Linked DNA regions of Homo sapiens: regions 2, 3 and 4 are each linked to region 1. The links are contacts of gene promoters, found by promoter capture Hi-C in blood cells and fetal thymus (Javierre and others, 2016). All regions are on one chromosome and are shown on one strand. The core of a region is centred on a gene start or on the middle of the fragment in contact, and the rest is flanking DNA. Distances in the headings are between cores, read along the strand shown. Region 1 holds the start of ZNF160 (zinc finger protein 160). Region 2 holds the start of ZNF841 (zinc finger protein 841). Region 3 holds the start of ZNF614 (zinc finger protein 614). Region 4 has its middle 6.3 kb from the start of ZNF613.

Region 1 (3,341 bases), core at 34-2,533:
TTGTTTACTCCTCCATATATGAAAAAAAGAAAAAAAAGCTTTTTAGTTTGTGTCTCTTGGACATTTTCAGATCTTGTGATTGGAACATTCTCTCTATTGCAATAGTCCTTTTGAATAAAATCTTCCTTCTCTAAGTCTGAATTTGTCATTTACAGTGGTAAATATCTTAATTGTTCTGAGATAAATTATGTATATTATCTTTTTGTGGCAAAGGACTTAATATATATTCAGTAGGTGAAAGTAGTTCCTGGGGCCAGGTATGGTGGCTCACGCCTGTAATCCCAGCACTTTGGGAGGCTGAGGCGGGTGGATCACTTGAGGTCAGGAATTCGAGACCAGCCTAGGCAACATGGTGAAACTTCATCTCCGCTAAAGAACGTGGTGGCGGGCGCCTGTAATCCTAGCTACTCGGGAGGCTGAGGCAGGAGCATTGCTTGAACCCGGGAGGCCGAGGTTGCAGTGAGCAGAGATCATGCCACTGCACCCCAGCCTGGACGACAGAGCGTGACTCCGGCTCAAAAAAAAAAAAAAAAAGTATAGGCGTTTGAGGTTGTCATCTCGCACGGAATAGAATAGTAAGTATAAAAAAGGACAATGCAATTTATATCTATTTTTTAAAAGTTACTGCTAATTTCAGGGCTTTTAAATTACTTAATTTTAATCGCAGAAACTTTTCCAGCATGCCATCACCGCTCCGTGTCAACCCATGTTCCCAGACTCCTGGGCTGCTTCAGCGTCAATAACATTACTGGGTAAACGCGCTAGCAAAAAATGCTTTCAACATAAACCGCCTCCATTCTAAGAGGAAAGCAGTTTGGTTTCCAAAATAACCTACACAACTGTGCTTTTAACTTGAAACCGTTTGAAACATCTACGCCGTTCCACAAGACACTACAGATGGCTCTGGGCGCTGGGCTGTGGGCATCACACGAAATCGCAGACCCTAACGTGTCCCGTCCAGCCCCGCCTCTCCCCCGGGTCCCTTCCTGGCGGTCCCTCTGCCTCCCTCCCCCGCGGTCCCTTCGCCTTCCTCCCCCGCGGTCCCTTCCCGCGGTTCCTCCCCGCCCTTCCCCGGCGGCTCCTCCCCGGCCCGCCCCCGGGTCCCTCCACTTGGTCACTCCCCACCCCTCCCCGGTGGCTCCTCCCCGTTCCTTCCCTGGGGTCCCTGCCTGGCGGCCCCTGCTTCAGCCCGGCTCTCTCAACGCCCCGCCCTTTTCCGGTTCCGCCCATCTCGGACCCCGCCCCGGGCCGCTCGGTCGCTTTCCTTCGCGCAGTTGCCCACAGACCCGGAAGTGGATCGTGCGGAGCAAGCATCACACCATGGCGTATGAGTGTTCCTCTGTGTAGACTCAACCTGCGCCTCGCCGTCCCCCATTCGCACACCCGATGCCCGGGGGTCGCTACGGACTTAAAATCTCCGCACCGCACCCTCCACCTCAGGTAAATAGGCCTTGCTGTGTGGGCCCGGAGACGCTTCCTTTTGGGTTAAAGTCGCCCTGAGGCTGGTCCCTGCCCCCGGTCTTTCTGCCTTGGGCCAAGTAAACACGGCCTTTCCCGGTTTTTTAAACGTTTAAGCAGGATTTTCCTGCTTAAAATCCTTTACTGACTCCTCCTCCCGCCCCGCATCGCTTAAAGTCCTCACCGCCTGCCCTGGGCGCCTCCCAGCCTCGCTCTCGTCGGCCCCTGGAGCGCAGCGCCGCCGACCCAGTCCCGGGGAGGCCGCGCCTCCGCCTGGTCCTGGGATCCTGCACATCCCACCCCTGTCCTAAGGCGCCGTCGCCCCCCACCTCCCTCCTCCTCGTGCCGGGCCCTGCTGCTCCCCAGGCCTCCCCTTCGCAGTCACCGCTTCCCTTGAGCCCTCGTTGGGGAGGTGCCCGGGGCCCGTCCTGTGACACCCGGTGTTTTTGCCTGCCCAGCTCCACCCCCTGGAAAATGTACTCCTCCAACATGCAGACATCTTACTACAAACCCTCCAGTGAATGTGTGGCCCAAGGGAATCAGGAGAAAGAGAGACAAAGAGCCACTGAGAGGAGATGGAAAAACCAAGAAAGAGAAAAGAAAAATGAGGGAGACCCATAAACAGATGGCAAAGTGGAGGATGGGTGAGAGATTTGCAGCGACAGAGTGAAAGAAGCAGTCAAGAAAGTAGCAGGGGCAGAAAAGCAATTGGCGAAATGTAGAGAAAAGCTCGATGTCCCGAGATGCAGGACAACAAGATAAGGAGAGGGACAGCAAAGAAGGAGCCTCCTCAGACAGAGAGTGGGGGAGAGGAGAAAGGATTTGGCCGAGGGCAGACAGAGCTGCGTGGTGCTGGGACAGCTGGAGGGGACAGCTGGTGACAAGGCGAGCAGAGGGAGCACCACAACACAGGGAGGCCTGGGATCTGGGAGTGCCAGAGAGTGGGGATAAGCGGGTGTAACAGGGAAGAGGGGATTTAACAGGGAGAGCAGAGGAGGCGCGGAGATGGGGTAAGAAAGAGGCAGAAATAGATGGAGATTGGGACGATGAAAAGATTGGAAAGAAAACGCCACAAGAGGTGAAACAAATTGGAAGAATGGAGTAGAACAGATATAAGGGGAAAAAACAAAGAAGGGAGAAACAGCAGAAGAAAAAAGAGGCACAACATCGTCAGAATCCTAGGGGGAAGATAAAAGGGGAAAAAGGCTGGAGAGACAAGGTGAAAGTGAGAGGCACAAAATGGGGGAGAGGAACACATAGTTATAAAGAAAGAGGGGCGCCCTGGGGCCAGGTGAGAGGTGAGTTGAGATTGGATATGACAATTTGATTTCTCTATTTATAATGTGTTACATTTAAATTGTAATCTAATTGTTTAAATTCTACATATAAGGATGAGAATTACAAAGCTCTGTGTAAAAGGCTTGTGCATTTTACAATTATGGCATAAGAGGCTAGCTTTCATTTGCCCATGCTGTTTAGCCATTGGGCAGTGACTTGCCTCATTCAGTTATGGGTCTCCCTCTTCCTGTTTCCGAGGATGGGGTAGGGTGGGGGCAGTGAAGAGAGGCAAGGAGTGACTGGCTGTGTCACTGCCTGGTGCCTTGTATTTACCTTTCATCTCACAGTTCATGCTGAAGGTTGAGATGAAGCTTATCTAATTCAGTCTCTTTTTCTATATGTAATTATTGCTGAAGTAAGCTTTTGTGGAATCCTGTATTGGCTCATGTCATTCTTTTCTAAATGTGATATATTTTCAATTTTTTCCCTTTGTAGAATTCCATATATAGTTAATATATCATATACATATTAAATAATATATATATTTTCAAAATGGTTTCCATTTGAAGTTAATTGTGTTGAGTTCAGATTGAGGTCTGCATGCT
Region 2 (3,375 bases), core at 151-2,650, 1.0 Mb after region 1:
CACCCTCAGCCCTGGAAACCACCCTTCTACTTTGTTACTCTGAATTTGATGTTTGTACTTAGCACGTGTAAGTAAGTGCATGAAGTATGTTTCTTTGTGTGTGTTGGGAACGGGTGCTCAGTGTCGCAAAAATCAACACTGAGACAAAGGATCTCTCAGCAAGGCTAGTTTACTTTCTGCAGAAAGGGTGCTGCTCACTAGCAGTCTTGCCACGAGAGTACACATGAACAAAAGAGAAGGGTCATTTATAACCTGACGCATCTGGCCGGGCGCGGTGGCTCATGCCTGTAATCCCAGCACTTTGGGAGGCCGAGGTGGGCGGATCACGAGGTCAGGAGATCGAGACCATCCTGGCTAACGCAGTGAAACCCCGTCTCTACTAAAAATACAAAAAATTAGCTGGGCGCAGTGGCAGGTGCCTCTAGTCCCAGCTACTCGGGAGGCTGAGGCAGGAGAATGGCGTGAACCCAGGAGGCAGAGCTTGCAGTGAGCCGAGATAGCGCCACTGCACTCCGGCCTGGGCGAAAGAACGAGACTCCGTCTCAAAAAAAATAATAATAATAATAACCTGACGCGTCCACCCTACTGCTGTGTCTGGTTTCCATTGGCTGGAATCGGACCCAATTCTGTGCTTGACCTGATTGGCTAGCACCTTAGAACTTCCCAAAAGAGGCAAAGGCAGAGGAGAACAAAGGAAGAGAGGAAGTAACTTGTGGAAGGCTGAGAGAGGCAAAAACACTTCCAAATAAGGAAGAGGAATAGGCTGTGACCTAATGCTTGCTTGGAACAATTCAGGCATGCCAGGGCAAATATCTAGGCTAAAATGTGGGAGCTAAGAACACAGAGTATATTGATTTATCTATTATGGCTAGCAGATATTTAAGAATATTAGCACAGGTCTTTGAGTAAATTTTGCTTCTAAGAGAGGTTACTATCTATTCTCAATTAGACTGGGAGGAAAGTCCCTTTGAAGAGGAACCTCTACTTATTTCATTTTCTACACTGTGTCTAGCACATTTCGCTTGGCATAATGTCTTCTGGGTTCCTGGATCCAGTCACTGCTCCACATCCAATCCCCACCGAGATCCCAGTTCCCTGACTACTGAGTAGCTTCAGCTTTTCTGGTAAGACTGGATGGAGTCCACCAGGCTCGGAAAAATCGGTTTTGACTTAAATCAGTTCAACTTGTTAAGAATAAATCATCTTAGTTTCCAGTATAAGTGGACCACAACTTTAAGATTCAACCTTAAATTCTGAAACATTAATTTAAAATGGGCAAGGAGCAACGCTGCTTCACAGGACAAGAAATAGTCACAAATACTCCCAAACCTGGAAAACAAAATCCTGCTGGGTGAGAGGCGGAGTGGAGAACAGGCCCCGCCTCGGCCCCGCCCACCCCTGGAGGCCCCGCTTCATCCCAGTTTTCGGTCCAGCCAAGCCCCACCTAGTCACGCCCCCTACCGCCCTGGGCCTCCCACCACCCTTTCGGGCCACTCCCAAGTCAGGCCAGTCTTTCCGCCCAGCCCTTTCCTAGTCGCGCCCCGCCTAGGCCCCGCCCCCAGGCCGCCCAGTTTTTCTTTCCGCGCCCAGTTTCCTGCACACCCGGAAGCAGATCGCGCTGGGGAAAGGCCACGTCGCTATGAGTGTGTTTCAGTCTACCTGGATTAAACGTTTGCTTCTCTTCGTCTACCTTGATTAAACGTGCACTTCGCAGTCCTCGGTTCTCCATACCCGTGACCTGGGGATCGCTACGGACCTTAAAATACCCGCAACAGCCCCTTCGTCCCAAGTAAGTAGGAGAATTGCTTCCCTTTCGGTTTAAAATCTCTCTGAGGCCGTTCCTTGCTCTCTGCCTTTCTTCCTTAGGACCATGTAGACAACCCCATTCAGGTAGTGTTCCCGCTTAAAACCCTCTGCTTGGGCCCCGCGCCAAGTCGAGTCCTCATTCGGGATGTGGACTAGCGCCCTTCGCGATCCCCGAGCTCCTCCGTCGTCTGCCCCTGGAGGGGAGCGCCCACTGTCCGGCTCCTGAAGGAGCCGCTTCTCCTCCCACGTCCTGGGATTCTGCAGACCCTCCCTGTCGTGAGACATCGTTCTCCGCGCCACCTCGTGTCGTCCTCACGCCGGGTCCTTCCGCTCCCCAGGCTTCCCCTTCACAGCCACTGCTTTTCTTGACTCCCCGTTGGGACAGGTTACCTGAGTCTGTCTTGTGACACCCAGTGTTCTTCCTTCCCAAATTTTACTCCACTGGAAAATGTGCTCTTCCGGGAGGTGGGCATCCTATTCCTCCCCTTTCCTCCCGAATGTGTGGGTGAGAGGGATCAGGAGAGGAAAAGACGGGGAACGACGGAGCAAAAGGAAAAACTGAGGAGAAAAGAATGAGGGAGACCCATAAATACACGGCAAAATGGATGATACTTTAGGGACTTGCAAAGAGAGCAAGAGTGAAAGAGAACGGATGGAAAAAGTAGCAGGGGGAGAAAAGCACACAGAGAAATTTAGAAAAAAAGGGGACCTTCAGAGAGATGAAGGGCAGCAAAATAGAGTGGGGCGGCAAAGGAGGAGGCACTGCAGACAGACAGACAGTGGGGAGAAGGTGAAAGAGTTGGAGCCGCGGCTGACAGAGCTACGTGGTGCTGGGACTGAAAGAGAGGGAGAGAGGGCAGTGGGTGACAAGCAGAGTAGAGGGAGAACCACAGCAGGGAGTAAGCCTAGGAAATTGGGGGTGCTAGAGAGTGGGAACAAAGGAGATGTAACAGGGAAGAGGGAATTTAACAAGGAGAGCAGAGAGGGAGCTTAGATGGGGGAAAAGAGGCAGAAATACGTGGAGATTGGGGACAATCGGAAAGATTGGGGAGAAAGAGCTACGAGAGGTGAAGTAAGTTGCAGAGCATTGGGCAGAACAGACATAAAAGAGGGAATAAAGAAAGGGGTGCAAAACAGAAAAGGAGAAAAAAAAGACGCTCAGAATGAGAGAGGGAAACACATAGCCGTGAAGAAAGCGGGAGAGGACCCCATCCAGATGCGTGACAGTTGATTGGATATGGATGGTGGTTGTAATATATTGATTTGTGGCTTTATACTCTGATTTGAAATATGTTTAAGTTGTACTCATGAGGATGAAAATCACCAAAGTTTTTTCTATAAGCCTTGTGCATTTTGTATGTATTTGTATCAAAAGATATTTGGAATTCCTATTTAGCCAGAGGGCAGTGACTTGATCCAGTTATTTGTGGTAACTCTCTTCTTCCCAATGATGGAGTAGAGCATAAAGGAGGGGAGAAATGGGGCAAGAAATGACTGACTGTCACTACAAGATATGTCTTTGGTGTTTTTTTTGGCTTTGTTCTGTTTTGTTTTGGGGGGGGACATGGT
Region 3 (3,247 bases), core at 489-2,988, 1.1 Mb after region 1:
CCAACCAGGCCCTTGAATCACCTTCCTTGTCCCGTGAATCAGCACAGCCTGCCACGGCAAAGTTTTATCAGCCCACTCCTGGAAATGATCAGTGAAGGTCCCATCATGGGCTGCTCATAGTCCTGTGGACCAGGTGCTAAACTTACCTACCAGAGATTAACATTCCAGATGAACGGGGCTGAAATTTAATCCTGGATGGAATATGTTATAACACTCAAGAAATACGAACATGAAATTCTTATTCTCTAGAAATTACAAAACGTAAGTAAAATGAAGAAATTTTAAGTCACCATAATTGTACGGAACAGTCAAATATTGTTAGTATATTCTCCAGAATTTTTCAAATGCATGAGCATATTTATTTTCTGAAAGAAAACAGCCTATTTTGCATTTATCATGCCATGAACTTATTATACATCATCATACCTATTTTCTAAGATCAACATGTTTTATAATATATTCATGATTATGGTACAAAGATAGTAAAATTAAGTATAAATTGGGAATATTTTTCAAGTAAAAACATGGCATTCTCTACCTATGAACACAAACAATATTAATTCAAACTAAATGTCTTGTTTAACCAATCACAATTTTCCAAAAGATGTTTATGATTTCTTCCAATAACAAGACCATAAAATATATACTATCCTGCAGATCATTTTTTTGTCCTCTGACAAAGTTTTCTTTTTTATAAAACAATTGTAGCATATTCTTTTAAATTGATATATACTCTTACAGTTCAGCAGATGTTCCATAATTTACCAAAGTATTCATCTCTCATTGTAATTCCCTTTTTTTGTAAATTACAAAAGTTGTGGTTAATATTAAGACAGATTTGCCTAGATAGCTTTTAGAATTGCTGTGTCAAAGAAAACGAAAAAATTAAATTGGCTCTAGGTTGCCTTCCAAAAATACAATATTTACTTAAATCTTCTACAGTTACAACGCCAACATCTGCAAAAATAGAACTAATATTTTTTAAGTGTGACTTTTTAAAAAATCTGGAAACATTGCAAAGTAGGATGATCGCATTCTAATAATTTCATATTCTTAAGTGCCCCACTGTCATCTTCCTTTACTTCTGGAAGGAAACATGTAGATATTAACACAGTTGCACCTTCACCTCCTCATCCCCTTCCCCACTGGCAGTGGTTTTAATAGCAAGCCCCATGTGGGTATTAGCATTTAATGGAGCATCACTCCTGTTCTCGGCTTCGTCCATTCAGTCAGAGTCTAATCTAACCCACAAAAGCCTTACCCAGCCCAGAACCCCCGCCCTATCCCCAAATCTAACACTTTCAGTGACCACTGGTTTTGGCAACTCTGTGACCGCTTCCTGGCCAGCACCGTGACTTCTTCAAACCTTGTTTATTTTTCCAAATTGTCCTGGATATGAGCATCTTCTCTGCCGTACGGCTGCTGCCTTCCTCTAAGATGGCCGTGCCCATGGTGCTCCAGCTAAGGCTCCACTCTCAGCTATAATGGGCACAAAGGGCGCCGCCATCTTTTTTCCACAGCAGGCTGAATAGAATGCCACTGCGCCGTGTTGGCCTTGGCTGGGCACCCGACTCTTGAGTGTCCCTTGCAACGAAGAGAGAAAGGCACTGAGGTGACTAAGAGTGATTCCCACAGCCATTATGGCCGCTCCTGTCAGAAACGCTGCGATGGGCGCAGCCCTGTGACCTCATAGAGCGGCGCCCGCAGTCTGAACTCGCGATCCCGGGCAGGCTCCGTGGTCCTCGCCTCGCTTCACGGTCTTTACCGCTCAGCTTCCCGGAGTCCGCGCAGGAGCGCGTCTGAATAGGAAGCGTTTTCGGACGTGGATGCGGCGTTTTGTCGCTGCCAGTGGTGTCTGGAGAGGTTCGGGCTCGGGTGAGTCGAGTTCTGGGCATGGACTCGCGGCCTGTGGGTCTGTGTACCGATGGTGCGTGGAGCGTCCTGATTGGGGCTGTATTTGAACGCAGTCGCTGAGGAAGCGGGGCGTTAATGACGGGTCCTTTGGCTGTAGGGATGAAGAGTCTGAGGAAATCAGCGACGAGTCCGACTCTGTCTGGGTCTGGGGCCCTTGTGAGTCACCCTTTACGGGTGTTGGGCTGGGGGACGGTCAGGTCTTTCCCTTCCCATGAGGCCCTATCTCAGGCTATCACATGGGATATTATCTTTCCTGAAGAATATAACATGTGCTCTTGAAAAAAATGTTTATTTTACTGCTGTTGAGTGCAGTGTTAAATGTTCGTTAAGTCTAGTTGGTTGATAATGTTGTTCAAGTTTTCGGTATCCTTGCTGAGTTTCTATTTGTTTTCTTTATTATTGCAAGTAGGGTAATGTAGTCTTCAATTATTATTGTTGAATTGTCTAATCCTCTCTCATTCTGTTTTGCTTCATACGTTTTTAAATTATCATATTCTTATATATACACCCTTATATTATTATTGCCAGCCATTGTAACCATTGTTGCCACTCACCTAGGCCTTGGTGTCCAGAGTTTTATTGGATATCAGTTAACACACACACACACAATTGACTGCCTATGAGGCTGACTTCAATCTCCAGCTCCTCCAGATATCAAACTAATACCACGTGGTCCAAGGTCTCCCACAGTAAATCACATTATTAGGATAGACAATTTGGCATGGCTTAAATTGCCCTGATAACCAAAGACAGTTTTATCAAGCAGCGTATTCCAAAGGCTTAGAGTTTGCCTCATAGGAACTGTGGGCAAAGGACAAAGCTCTCTTGGGTAAAGTTACTCCTTTAGCGCATAATGTGAAATGAGACAGTTCTTGTGATTTGCTTAGTACATTGGTCTTGACACGAGGTATGTATACCCAAAGAGCTTACAGAGACTTTCGAACCAGTACATGGGCACACGTGGTTTTTAAAGACATTCTTGGAGCCTTCCATGTGTTCTCTTTCCTAAAATTGATCTGTCTGAGAATTCACCTTGAAGGGGGCCACCCCTCCACAACCTGTGGGTGTTTCTTGTCAGGTGGGATGAGAGACTGAGAAAAGAAATAAGAGACAAAGTATAGAGAAAGAAAAGTGGGCCCAGGAGACCAGCACTCAGCATACGGAGGACCCACGCTGGCACTGGTCTCTGAGTTCCCTCAGTATTTATTGATCACTATCTCTACCACCTCGGAGAGGGGGATGTGGCAGGACAATAAGGTAATAGTGGGGAGAGGGTCAGCAGGAAAACATGTGAACAAAGGTCTCTGTGTCATAAATAAGTTTAAGGAAACGT
Region 4 (3,248 bases), core at 739-3,238, 1.2 Mb after region 1:
GAACTTGAGAGTTGGAGGTTGCAGTGAGCTGAGATTGTGCCCCTGCACTCCAGCCTGGGCAACAGAGTGAAACTCCATCTCAAACAACAAAAACAACAACAACAACAACAAAACAAAGCCCTCCTGGGCTGTGTGCACCACCACCAACAACAACAAAACAAAGCCCTCCTGGGCCATGTGCACCCCATGGTCCGCAGGTTGGACAAGCTTGGTTTAGAAGTTACCTGCCAGGTATAGGGAAGGGCTGAGCCTTTCTTTGGAATGTTCAGTTTCTGGGTAACCCAGACTCGCTCTGTTTATCCTTTACTGCACAGCTTGTCTTCACACCATGATGTCTTGAATCTCAACTGGAAGACTCAGAAGGTTGGGGACTGGAATCATCTGAAGGCTTCTTCCTCTCTGTATCTGTGTGCCAGGCTGGGATTACTTGAAAACTAGGCTCAAGGAGGCTGCCAGCCAGAGCACCTGTGTGTGACCTCCACATGTGACATGGATGGGCTTCTCACAGCATGATGCTGGCTCTGAGACAGCCAAGATGCGGCCACAGGGCCTTTTCTGCCTTAGCCTCAGAAGTTATGTTGTGTCACCTCTGTTGCATTCTGCAGCTAGCTCAGTCGGTAGAGCATGAGACTCTTAATCTCAGGGTCATGGGTTCGTGCCCCATGTTGGGTGCCAGATGAAGGAGGCCTGCCCCTCCACACCTGTGGGTATTTCTCACAAGGTGGAGACGAGAGACTGAGAAAAGAAATAAGACACAGAGACAAACTATCGAGGAAGAAAAGTGGGCCCAGGGAACCGGCACTCAACATACGGAGGACCCGCACCAACACTGGTCTCTGAGTTCCCTCAGTATTTATTGATTACTATCTCTACTATCTCGGTGAGGGGGATGTGGGAGGACTATAGGGTAATGGTGGGAAGAGGGTCAGCAGGAAAACGTGAGCAAAGGACTCTGTGTTATAAATAAGTTTAAGGAAAGGTGCTGTGCCTTGATATGCACATAGGCCAGATTTATCTTTGACTTTACACAAACATCTCAGTGAAGTAAAGACAGTATTGCCCCCACCATGTCTCACCTCCAGCCATAAGGCAGTTTTCTCCTATCTCAGTAAATAGAATGTACGATCGGGTTTTACACTGACACATTCCATTCCCAGGGATGAGCAGGAGAGAGATACCTTCCTCTTATCTCAACTGCAAAGAGGTCTTCCTCTTTCACTAATCCTCCTCAGCACAGACCCTTTATGGGTGTCAGGCTGGGGGACAGTCTGGTCTTTCTCTTTCCATGAGGCCATATCTCAGGCTGTCTCAGTGGAGAGAAACCTTGGACAATACACAGGCTTTCTTGGGCAGAGATCCCTGTGGCTTTCTGCAGTGCATTGTGTCCCTGGGTACTCGAGACTGGAGAATGGCCATGACTTTTACCAAGCATACTGCCTGCAAACACATTTTTACCAAGGCACATCCTGCACAGCCCTAAGTCCATTAAACCTTGAGTCAATACAATACATGTTTCTGCAAGCATAGGGTTGGGGCTAGGGTTACAGATTAACAGCATCTCAAGGCAGAATAATTTCTCTTAGTACAGATCAAAATGGAGTTTCTTTTGTCTTCCTTTTTCTACATAGATGCAGTAATAGTCTGATCTCTCATTCTTTCCCCCATGCTTTTCTGCCTTAGCCTCGGAAGTTATGTTGTGTCACCTCTGTTGTATTCTGCAGGTACAAGCAAATCACCAAGACTAGCTAGGTTCAAGGGGGAAGGGAATAGGCTCCATCTCTTCGTGTGGGAGTGGCAAGATTTAGCAGAAGGTTTTCTTTGGAATGTGAGATATTATTGTGGTCATCTTTGGGAAATGCAGTCTACCACATGGACACAATAACAAATCGTTTCCTTTTCCCTGAGGAGAAAGCTCCTCTAGAAAAGTGAATATTTCATGTTACTTAAGAAGAAATTTCTTTGATGGGTCATGATATAGATCATATAGAAGTTAGTGCCCCCACAGATAAGCCAGTGGTGTAATACCAAAACCAAACTCAGTGATCAGAGTGCTTCAGGGACCCAGAACAGTGTAGCCAAAGTCCACAGCCTCCTGGGGGTCTGTTTTTATTCAGGGATAAAATGTAGAGATTTTTAAGATGGATGGATTCTATGACCATCATATGGTCTTCCACAAAGAGTCCTCAATATTCTGCTTTTTTTTTTATCAGTGGTTTTCATTTTTTGACCCCAGGTGACATTTGGCAATGTCTGGAGAAATTTTTGATTGTCACACCTGGGAAAGGAGGGTGTGCTAATTGGAGCTAGTGGATAGAGGCTAAGAATGCTGCTAAGCATCCTACAATGACACTACAGTGCCCCAAAATAAAGAATTCTCCAAACCAAAATGTCAATGCCTGTTACAGTCTGTTCCTATGGGATTGAACGAAATGGGACAAATGCAGAAGTGAAGACAAAGACAAAAAGATACATTTTAAAAGAAGGGGTCAGGGGACTCCTTGCTTCTAGTGAGCAAAGACAGCCCTCAGCTTCTACAGCCCTTCATATGTATTAGGTAGAATCAATAGGGAGAGAGAGGTAACGGTTGGTCAGCTGCTTTGATTCATTAGAGGTACACATAATTACTTTCTTTATACAACAGGCTTCAGATGTTCCTATAGATAACCACTGTGGAGCACTCGATTCTGTCACTGTTTGGGGGGGGCCACTATGTAACCTGCCACAATCCCTGGTGGGCTGAACAAAGTGGGGCAAATGCGGGAATAAAAGACGAGACAAAAGAGTATATTTGGAAGAAGGGGTCAAGGAGCACCTTGCCTCTAGTGGACAAAGGCTCTGAGCTTTACACAGCCCTTTGTATTTATTAGGCAAAAGGGATAGTGAGAAGGGGTGTGGAAGAAGGGGTCAGTTGGTTGGTCCAGAGTAGGCTTGCAAGATTGCATTCCTCAAACAACAGGCTCTAGATGTCCCAGCAGATAACCTCAGCGCCAGGGAATGATAGCCGCCAGCAAACTTTCTGTCAGCAGGCACAGTCGTGAGTTTGCCCATATCCTGCATTTGTGATAAACAGTTTGCTGTTTGATCATGTAGCTTCCAGTGGAATGCTGAGCTGATCATGTCCCATGGGCCTTTGGCTCCCTACAAACCACAAGGAACACTCTGCCTGGGGTGTGACTGCTCTTGGCACTCCTTCTGGTGGCAGATGCAATTTGTCAGTTTTCCAACATCCTGCTTTCATGAGAACAGTT

What was found. Contacts are between HindIII fragments. The CHiCAGO score rates a contact against its expected background, and 5 or more counts as called.
Region 2: a fragment that was not itself captured here is called in contact with the fragment with the promoter of ZNF160 in region 1 in 1 of 17 cell types (total CD8 T cells); the score reaches 5.2 in total CD8 T cells.
Region 3: the fragment with the promoter of ZNF614 here is called in contact with the fragment with the promoter of ZNF160 in region 1 in 2 of 17 cell types (activated CD4 T cells and naive B cells); the score reaches 6.4 in activated CD4 T cells.
Region 4: a contact is called between a fragment that was not itself captured here and the fragment with the promoter of ZNF160 in region 1, in 1 of 17 cell types (non-activated CD4 T cells). The highest score is 5.1, in non-activated CD4 T cells.

What each region holds. Positions count from the first base shown.
Region 1 is chr19:53,101,364-53,104,704 of GRCh38, reverse strand. It overlaps ZNF160 (zinc finger protein 160), which reads left to right and starts at 1,283. Exons shown (of 6, transcript NM_001322131.2): 1 at 1,283-1,440. RefSeq lists a silencer at 831-1,240. The HindIII fragment of the contact is 3,069 bases long and covers 41-3,109 here.
Region 2 is chr19:52,093,989-52,097,363 of GRCh38, reverse strand. ZNF841 (zinc finger protein 841) reads left to right here and starts at 1,599. Exons shown (of 7, transcript NM_001136499.2): 1 at 1,599-1,789. The HindIII fragment of the contact is 4,438 bases long and covers 1-3,375 here.
Region 3 is chr19:52,026,870-52,030,116 of GRCh38, reverse strand. ZNF614 (zinc finger protein 614) reads left to right here and starts at 1,738. Exons shown (of 5, transcript NM_025040.4): 1 at 1,738-1,875. LOC112268244 (a long non-coding RNA gene) reads right to left here. Exons shown (of 2, transcript XR_002958414.2): 2 at 337-3,005. RefSeq lists enhancers at 1,251-2,010, 2,481-3,247. The HindIII fragment of the contact is 7,426 bases long and covers 1-3,247 here.
Region 4 is chr19:51,919,567-51,922,814 of GRCh38, reverse strand. No RefSeq gene overlaps it. Among named protein-coding and RNA genes, the nearest start is that of ZNF613, 6.3 kb to the left of the region's middle. The HindIII fragment of the contact is 3,557 bases long and covers 210-3,248 here.